Regions from separate parts of the Homo sapiens genome. Here region 1 is linked to region 2. The links are contacts of gene promoters, found by promoter capture Hi-C in human tissues and cell types (Jung and others, 2019). All regions are on one chromosome and are shown on one strand. Each heading gives the region's core, a stretch centred on a gene start or on the middle of the fragment in contact. The rest is flanking DNA. Distances are from core to core; before and after follow the strand shown.

The links. Contacts are between HindIII fragments. The study calls those that stand out against the background at their distance.
Region 1: a contact is called between a fragment that was not itself captured here and the fragment with the promoter of STC1 in region 2, in 4 of the 25 tissues and cell types used here (H1 embryonic stem cells, mesenchymal stem cells, mesendoderm cells and 1 more).

Annotation. Positions count from the first base shown.
Region 1 is chr8:24,104,342-24,109,377 of GRCh38, forward strand. All of the region lies in intron 2 of LOC107986931 (a long non-coding RNA gene), which reads left to right. It overlaps LOC105379328 (a long non-coding RNA gene), which reads left to right. Exons shown (of 3, transcript XR_949589.2): 3 at 703-1,963. Among named protein-coding and RNA genes, the nearest start is that of ADAM28, 190 kb to the right of the region's middle. RefSeq lists an enhancer at 2,020-2,657. The HindIII fragment of the contact is 4,994 bases long and covers 1,165-5,036 here.
Region 2 is chr8:23,852,279-23,857,379 of GRCh38, forward strand. It overlaps STC1 (stanniocalcin 1), which reads right to left and starts at 2,528. Exons shown (of 4, transcript NM_003155.3): 1 at 2,128-2,528; 2 at 1-106. The coding sequence starts at 2,245. The HindIII fragment of the contact is 6,962 bases long and covers 536-5,101 here.

The DNA of each region.
Region 1 (5,036 bases), core at 2,412-4,911, 250 kb after region 2:
CTGGATCTCCCCTCCAATCCTCCTGGCTGCCTGGGAGTGGGGAATGCTTCATAAAAAAGATATTCCACTTGATCTTGGTCTTTAAGGATGTAAAAGAGTTTACCAACAAAGATGGAGAATAATAGCTTTGCTGAGAGAGAAAACAGAATGTTCACTTCTGTATGTATGGTGTGATAGGACACACTCTTGGAGAATAGTGAGAAGCAAAGTATGCTCTATGGATAAAATATACACTATGAGGTGAGTAGAGACAGGAAGTTTGGGACCCAGTTGTAAAGTGCCTGGGATGACAATTGAAGTGAGAATTTCACCCTGGATGTAGGAAATCAATGAAAGTCTTTAATGTGAGGAAGTCACCGTCAGAGCTGTATTTTTAAAAAGTTTTTCTAATGGCAATACGAAGGATGGACTGGAGGGAGAAGAAGTGAGATAGGAAAAGCAATAGGTTTTGCATATTAATGTTCCAGAAGAAGATGATGAGGTCTAAATTAGCAGAAAAACAGAAAAAAGGAATGAGTTTCTAAAGATATATATGAGAGACAATACGTTCCCTGTCATACTGATCTGAGTTACCTTGTGTATTTAATAGATTCTAAATGTACATTTAAAAATATGTAAAGATTCTTGAAATTCGGATTCATGTTACCATTGGCTATCCCGGTTTAATCGCCAGAATATTTTTTCTTCTTTCTAAATGCATAGACATACTGATGAGTGTAACAATTCATGGAGCCATAGATACAGCAAAATAAGGTAAGTTACTGTCCAATTTTCTCATATTCTCTGTACAAAAATCCTCTAAAGACTTCTGGTCCAGTGGAGGTAAAAATCATTGCCCCTTCCTTGTTAAATGGAGCAAAGTAAAAGGATAAAATCAACCTGGCTTTCCTTAGTAAGTAAAGGATCAAGTTGGTTGTTTGTTGAAAATACAAATTCACTTTTTATTGTAACTATTTGTTTCTAGGTGAAGTCAATTCTCTGTCCTAAATGAAATGGCAAAATACTCAGATTCAGCAGAAGAGAAGTAGCATGAGATAATACAAAAATCTGTTAAAAGCTTTAATTTCAAGTTCTGCCTGTGGGGCATTAGTTGTGTGACCTTGGACAAGTCATTTCAGCCTCTCTAAGCCACTCAGTTGCCTTCTTGGTAAATATAGTTCCAAGATCAGTCTCATAAAATTGTTGGGTGGCTGAAATGAAATATTTACATAGATAATGTAAGATAATTTTTTTCTTTGTTAATCCGTTATCTTGTTTGAGTACTTTGTAAGCTTCAAATTACTATGCAAAACTTAATTGCTGCCCATATCTGCATGCCCTGGTGGTATGTTCATAGCCTATCGAGGACCTAGTATCTCAGACCTCCAGAGAGTCATCTTGTTTAACCTGTTTTGTAATTTGGCTCTGAAAGCACATTTTGATGGCGGATGTGGTATTAACAAATGTTCTAGAGGGGAGAGTGGTTTGCCAGGAAGCTTTGCCAATTAAAAGCAAAGTGAAAATTCAGAATTACAGAGATTTAATTTCCTGCTGAATAATTCTCCACAAGCTGTGTAAACTTCTCCTTACTGAACAAATACTCAGAATAAAATAGCTTAGATGCTCTTTTCCTTTTTAATAAGAAAATGTTCATATTATTTGCATGTGGAGCCAAGGGAAGAAGGAGGTCTGGCTCTCCTGAGCTGAGTTTGTATAAGTCATCAAGAATCCTGCTGTGTCCTTGACCTGTGGAACTTGGAAGGCTGGGTGAAAAGAGCCATTTTTAAAGGGCCTTTTGCCAGCAAGAGCCCCATAGATTGTCCCTGGGCTAGTTCCTTGCAGTCTGTTTAACTTGATACTTTTAAAATGAATTGACCATTAGTGGAAGATGCTTTAGAATAGTGTTTGAGCACCTACAATGAGCCAGTCCTGAGGTCAAGTGGCTAGCAAAACAGACATGGTCCTTGACTTCCCAGAACATAGTTTGGAAGGGGAGTCAACCAACAGATGTTCACATACATAAATATAAAGATAAAAATTGTGATAAATGTTAATATTAATGCATCCAAAAAGAAGGCTATTTAAGAAAGGACATTTGAACTGGAACGTAGTGTAAGTGGGAGGTGTTCAACTGCCTAGATCATAGACAAGTGTTCAGGCAGTGGTAGTCTCTGTGAAAAGTCCCTGAAATGGAAACGGCTGGGTGTCCTTGAAAAGCTGAAATGAGGCCAGTATGCAGGAGATAGCTTGAGGGAGAATGGTTCAAGAGAAAGAGAAATAGTTCCCAGATAATAAAGCTCTCCTGGACCTAAGCACAGTGGGAATCCATTAAAGGGTTTAAATCAAGAGAATAGCCTGGCCAGATTGTATTTACAAAGATCACTTTGCCTGCTGTGTGGGAAACCACTGAAGAGCAAAGTTTGCAAGCAAGGACAGTAATTAGCAAGCTCTTGTAATCATTCTAGCAAGTGATGGTATTGAGGTGGACTAATGTGGTCATAGAGGTGGTGAAGAACAGTGTGCAATTTTGAGATATATTTTACAGTCAGGATCTGCATGACTTGATTCTGAATTGGATGTTAGAAGTGAGGCAGAAAGTTGAGACTCATAGTCGAGTCTCAGATTTACAGATTGAACACTAGCTGGGTGGATCATGAAGCCATTTACCAACTCAGTTCCACAGAGGAAGGAAGTTTTGATGGAAGACCTTAAAGCTGAGCTACAGGTCTTAAAAGTCTATTTAAGTTTTTATTTCATGTAGACTTCATATCGAGTTTAAGTTTCCCAGCAGAGTCACAGAGTGCAATGCTACGTAAGTCTGGAGCTTTCAGCAGAATTCAAGCTTGGAGATACAAATTCAGCAACTCACTGAACCATGGAGAGTTGTGAAAGCAATAGTATAATGGGACTCCAGGGCATTGTCACTAAGAGAAGTTGGAGCGGTTGCCTCCTTCTGATTAGTATGTAAAAATTAACTGAGGAGATTAGGTTAGGAGGACACAGGCCATGATCAGGAAGCTCAAATCGATCATTAGGCAATGAGAGTAATTGAGAATCAGAGCACAGGCTTCTTTTGAGGGGGGAAAAAACAAGCAGCTCTGTCTCTCCCATAAGACATATGATAAAATATTAAGCACGTACCGTGTAACAGGCATCATGCAAGGCATTTTGTAAACCTTTTTCCAATGTAAACTTTATAAAAAGTTTGCATTGTTCTAAAAGATATGTATACACATAGGTTAAGGGGTTGAATAGTTCTACAAAGGTTATTATGAAAACCACGTTTCTTCTGCCACTATTTCCAGCACCCACTCCTTATAGGCAGCTGCTTTCCATTCTTTTAGCTTTTTCTCTTGGTATTTCCATGTATGTCCTAAATAACACATTTTATGATGTTAATTCCTGATTTTTTATTTTTATTTTTTTTTGTTTCAGGCATTGTATTTTAGCTTTTCACTATGAAAAATGAGAACTTAGCCTTTTTCTTCAGGCTCTTCCTCCAAACACAAAGGCACTGAGAGAATAGACTCTAAAGCTATAGACAGTGTAGAGTGGAATGCACTTTTAAAAGCTTCCTGGTAGAGTTTGAATTGCCAGTTGCATCTCCAGGTAAAAGAGATGGCTTGACAGAACGTAAGGGCAGCAGCAGTGTCTCACCTACAGAGGAAGCTTCTCACCTGGACAGGAGTGGTAAAAGGCAGTTGTGACAATGACCACAGCACCTTGCATTTCAAAGCTTTATGTCTTTGCAGTGCATTTTCCCACTGACTCTTTAAAGGACTTCTGATATTCCAGTGAAGTAAGTCGGGCAATAGTATTTGTATAATTTTTTCCCTCAAAAAGGAAATTGAAGTTAAGAAAATTTGGGTGATTAAGCCAAGATGAGTGACAATTGCGATTATGGCAATGAGGGAAATCATTGATTGATAGCTATGTTTCAATACTAAATGAACACAGTAATCTTTGTTTCTAACAAGCAGTATAAAGTACATATGTGTATGTCCATAATAAACATGTATTTGCATATAAATTATATAGGTATTTAACAGTGTACATATTTCACTGGCTGTTAAAACTGTACATGTGTATGTATATATTAATATATAGCATAAATTGGTACAAGACTAGAAGAAAATAAGCAAAAACTGAAATAATTTAGTTGGAAAGATCAGATTGTGAGTGGTAGCTTAAAATTATTTTTTTCCTGCTATACTATAGCTAAGCAAATTAAAATATTTGCTAAGTAAATTAAAAAGTAGTACAACTTAGCAGGTTAAAAGAATTTTTTTCCCACCTATGAGTGAGAACATGCAGTGTTTGGTTTTTTGTCCTTGCGATAGTTTGCTAAGAATGATGGTTTCCAGCTTCATCCATGTCCCTACAAAGCCCATGTACCGTAAAACTTAAAGTATAATAATAATAAAATAAAATAAAATAAATAAAAAGAATTTTTTTCTTTCTTTTATCTTTTTTTTTTCTTTTTAAAGATGGAGTCTTGCTCTGTTGCCCAGCCTGGAGTGCAGGGGAGTGATCCTGACTCACTGCAACCTCTGCCTCCTAGGCTCAAGAGATTCTCCTGCCTCAGCCTCCAGAGTAGCTGGGATTATAGGCATGTGCCGCCACGCCTGGCTAATTTTTGTATTTTTGTAGAGACAGGGTTTTGACATGTTGCTCAGGCTGGTCTCAAACTCCTGGCCTCAAGTGATCCGCCTGCCTAGACCTCCCAAAATGCTGGGATTTCAGGTGTGAGCCACTAAGCCTGGCTAAGGATTTGGATTTGTTATTACAAATGCCATGGGCTGTTGTTTAGAAATCCACATGAATTAAATTGTTTTAAGAGAAATTATCAAGTGAGCATAAGAGTATAAGAAAGGGTAGGGATAGAATCTTTCCTCATTTTACAATGTGCCCTCCCCAATCCCTATTTCATCATACATATATAAAATTGTAATTTTTTGTGTATGTTAGCTAGTGAAACATGATTATTCATGAATCAGCATGTGAACTCATAGACTTACTATTGCCTGTCACACAGCCACAAGTGCACACCTGCTTAA
Region 2 (5,101 bases), core at 1,278-3,777:
TTACAGATGTCATACATCCCATCTGTGTCACAGGTGGAGTTTTCCAGGCATGCAAAAGCCCCGCAGCCGACCTGTAGAGCACTGTTGAGGCAACGAACCACTTCAGCTGAAAGAGACAAATCCATCCATTCTGGGTCAAACAGTGAGGAATGGCTGGGTGGGATCAAGTGGGTGCAGAGGTGAATTTCAAGGACATGAGGTCAGAAGAACTTATCCTAGGAATCTGTCATGAGGGGCAATTGATAGACCCATTTGATTGAGAAAGAGAGGATAGACAGGCTCCTTTTGTTTATGATTGCTGGAGTACATGATGGACAGGGAGGGAGTTCTCTGTTTCAGACACACGCTCCCTGTTTCACCATTACCTACAATTTTGGTGTCTGGAGAAGTGAGGCTCAAGTCTGGAAATGCACAGTGCCTTTAAGCCATTCCATAGAATCAAAGGTCATTGCTTAGCACTTGAAAGCATGGGAAGGAAGGAGACAGTGGCTAGTGGTCAGGTTTAAGAGGTAAAAGGGCCAGGGAATCCATCTAGCTTTGGAAAAATGCACTCCCGAGTAAAAAGCATGGGATTTTAGTCTAAATGGCAGAGAAGACTGTGCCAGGAGTCCACTTGGAGACCCTTCTGATTTCAGGCTTTTAACTTACCGTCATATTGGCAAAAAGAAATCTGATCCGTTCATGTTTCACCCCAACCCTCCACTAGGACAGTGCTTAGAGGTATGCATAATCTCTTTCATATTAAAAGCCTTTTAAAAAAGAAAGAAAGAAAGAAAGAAAGAAAGAAGAAACACAGGTGTGGAATAACCAGGCCAAGGCCTCCCTATGCAAGACTGGAAGAAAACCGCAAAAAACTTGCATGAGGCTTTCTACATTCTGGATAAGATCTCCCATAAAAGTAATTTTTCTCCCACAGAAGGGGGGTGTTCTGGCAGGCAGCTAGGCAAGGAATGATCTGCAGCCTTCATGCCATAGGATTCTCCTCTGAGATCAAAAGCATGGTTCAGTTAGTCTTCCCCACCCCCTCCCACCACCCGCAGCCTCTAGGATGTTACAAGTCATTTCCCTAATTATATATTTCCACGGGTTTAAATTATAACTTTGCTTTAAGCAGTTTTAATATGCATTAGGGCTGCTATTGTTTTAGGCAAGCTCGAATTGTGAATCACTGCATCTCTATAGCAACTAAGTACAAAAGGAAGTGAAGCAAAAGCCCTCCTCTCGGCAGGGACCTGTGCTCTTCCAAGGGGATCATCATCTGCAGCATTTTGACACCTGTGATCCGGTCTTTGCTGACAGTTGGAGGACAGAGGGCAGTATTGGAAGGGGAACAAGTGGAGCCAGAGAAGTCAAGAGGCAGAGGTGTCAATGCAGGCTTCCTAATGATTCTTTTCCTTCAGAAGCCAAGATAATGCACAATTAACTGCTCCAAGAGTCAAGACGAAAGTGAGACCTTACCCTTGGAGAAACAGCTGCTACGTTTCACAATTTTTTTTTTCTAGGGGCTCTCTGGCTACGGGCTGCAGGGACGACTGAATGGAGCCCTACAGAGCCAGGAGGGAGACAGGCAGCAGGGTTGGGGGTGGGATGTATAGGGTTTTCTCTGAATCCGCCCTGGATTTGTCAGACTTGAGGGCTATGGTTCTGAAAATCAGTCTGAAGAGGGAGCTTTTCTGTGTATTCTCTTAGGTAGAGAAGTCAAGAAGTGAAGAGGTAGAGTCTTAAGAGGAAAGGAAGAGGGACAGCATCAAACAAGCCAGGTCTTACCTTAGATCAGCTTCTGGAAAGTATAGAGAGCGCTTTGAAGCATGCCAACATTCAAGCCTTTCCTCCCCTCTCACCCCTCCCCCTCCAAGAGGGTACGTGCCAGATTTCAGGCAATCAGGCTAGGCTTATGCAATGAAATACCCTCAGCAGAGCGTCCAGCTTCTTCGTTTAGTTGCATGCAATTTATTAAACAAAGGAGCTCCACTGCCTAAGGCTATTGGATTACACTGGCAGTTTATTGCCATCAGGCATGAAGCACATTTATTATCAAGATCAGCCGTCACAGACACAGTTGCAAAAGGGAGAGGCAAATGAGGACAGCTCTTTGGGGGAGAAACCGCTCTTGGGTTTGCTGCTTACCTGAGTTTTGAGCCGCCACTCGGGATTTCCTGGGGCTCACAGAGTCATTCTGCTCCGCCTCATGGGTTGCAGAAGCACTGATCACCAGCACCAGAAGCACTGCTGAGTTTTGGAGCATTCTCTGAGAAGTTTCCGCTAAGTTGTTGGGTTTTTTTTTTTTCCTGCCCCCCTTTCCTCTTTCCCTCTCCTGGCTTGAGTGAAGATGTGGATCTGGATACACTGAAAGCTTAGGTGAGGATTTGATGAGGATTTTTTTTTGTTGTTGTTGCTGGTGATGCTGCTGCTGCCACCGGTGCCTCCGCTGCTGCTGCTGCTGCCGCCGCTGCTGCTGCTGCTGCCACCGCCGCTGCTGCTGCTGCTGCTGCAGTCGCTGCTTCTTGCACCTCTGGCTTTTGCAAACTGGGGGCCCAAGAGCTGCACCCAGGGATTTTATAGCCGTTCTTATCGGTCCTCAGGATCAAGGACCAATCAGGTCCCTCAACTGGTCTGGTGAGCCAATAAGAGGGCATGCAATTCAGCTGGAGCTTTTTGACTTCTTAGAAATATTTTCCAGCAAATTAAAAGTACCTGCTGCCAATGTTTTATATGTGTGTGTGACTGTGTGTGCAGAGATGTGTGAAAAAGCTATTTTCGTGGAAGTAAGAGATAACTCTGTATTGATTGAACTAAAGAAAAATCCTATAGAAATCTCTCCAAGTTGCTTTTTGAAATCTAGCCATCTTTTTTTCTAATGAGCCACTTGGGGGAAATGGATAGCAGGGGTATGGTGGGGAAATGTGATCTCTTTAGATGAGAACTTAACCTGCTTACAGCAGTTTTACTCTAATTTTAACAGCACATTCTCGGTTCTGTTTTGTAGGCTACAAATGCAATAACTCCCTATCTTCTCTGTGTGTACATGTTCACATGTCTATGATGCATTTTTGTTTGTATGTGGACATCCTGGGTTCTCACTCACACATTTGAGCCCTTGAGGGGGAATTTATGTGAGTGGAAAAGCCTTGGGGGACTGAGATATGACAGCTCAGAGCTGAAGCCTTAGTCCCCCTACTGATCAACCTATGACTCTGGCTAAGTCTTTTTACCTTGCCCCACCTCGTTTTCCCATCTGTAAAACGCCAAAGTTGGACTCTGACATTCTGTATACCTCTAAAATAATGTGATTCTTCAATAATCAAATCAACTTTGACTTCATCTTTTCAGTCACCAGCAAAATTGCATAGTCCAGGAGTGTTAGTTACCCCAGGTACACATGTGCACACCTGCACATACCACACTCAACAGGGAGACATCATGAATGCCTGAAAATTAATAATCTGTGTTCAAGCCCAGCAACTTTATAACCACTTTGAAACAATAAGCTGGCCAAAGCAAGACTAAACCTGCTGAATGGAAACCAGTTCATTTCTTGGGGAGAGGGGTAGGAAAAAAGGGGGCAGAATGGAAAGAAGGGGTAGAGAAAGACCAGAATGTGTAGGAGAGAAGAATGATAAGCTCTAGACTTAATAGGAAAATTGCACTGCAATCACAAATCATGCCTGGTATAGAAACTTATATTTTCTTATAAGTGAGTTGTAGGCAATGCTGAGGTTTGTCCCCAACATGTGAAGGAGGTTAATGAGCCAGAAGAGGACTTCTTAGGGTAGGAAGGTGGTGAAGGTATTATACAATAAAACCTTTAATAATTTTGGGGAAGTAGATGAGAAATGGCCACTGGTGATTCATACAGATTTGGGCAGGATAATCTTGCAGAGAAATGGGGCCAGTGGCTTTACTTTGCATCCTAAAACCTTCAAACAAAAGTTGAAGAAAGAGTGCCACCCCTGTTAACCACAAACTAAACCAAGTGTCAGCTCTGTGTATGTTGTGGGGTGATAGGGTGGTGGGGGGCGGGGGGGGGGGGGCGGCGGACGGTTCTGGGTGATGATAGCCTATCCCTCACAAAATAGGGTTGTTTGGTAAGTATGAAAGTTTGCTAGAAAAAGGAATAGAAGGAATAAAGGATACAGGAAATATCTAAAAGAAAGGAAGGGAATTTTCAGATTTACATTATATAACAAGAATACATTTTAATTTATATTAACAGGCAGTATTGGTATTTCTTTAGAACCTTCTGGGCTGAGTGCTAGGGGACAATGTGGGAGGATAAATGAGAAGACATAGAGAAGAAGGTAAGTTCATTATTCTTGTCCTGAAGGTACTTACAGGTGAGTTGGGAAGATGACCAGCCACAGTCATACTTCCTAAAGGTTCGGGATGTCAGGACCTCATATAGTAAGACACAGGCTCAGGCAGCACTGGCTGGAGATGGGGGGAAAGCTCTTGAGGGAAAGATCAGTGGGGAAAGATGTAAACTGCTGTTGTTGCTTTTTAAGAATTTAGGAAAAGCTATGCTATTTCATTTTTAAAAAACAAAGCTTGTATTGTGGAAAGCTTCAAGGTTATTTGTATTGCTTTAGTTAGAAGTAGTAGATGCCAGGCAAGGCAATAGAATTTCTCAGTGCTCTCTTCCAGAAAGGGAGTAAGAGGACAGATGCGTATTCCTCCCAAGGGTCTTGACTTCTGTTCTTTAGCATTCTCTACCTCCTTGGCCATTATTCATCATCTAAGGCAGTGCCATTTGTTTCTCTTGGGCTTTCCCTGAGTTGGTCTGCTTGGCTTGGTAGGGTGATGATTTACCACCAGCCATCTACTTTGTTTTTCCAACTCTCCGTTGCTCTCACCAGAACACGATGTCCTACAAGCATCAAGATGTGTTTGTGTTTTTTTTTTCTGATGTTGATTTATTATTCCTTCTTATTTTGCTCACTTACTATCTTGTGCCTGGAAGTTCATTGCTAGGTGTGCCAAGTGTTTCCCAATAACAGGTAAACTGTCCTTTGAAGAAATACAATAGTGGTCAGCCCATTGATTTGAATGTAACTAGTATGCATGCCAATGCATTTGAGAACCTTAGGGGAAGGAGCTGAAGTCT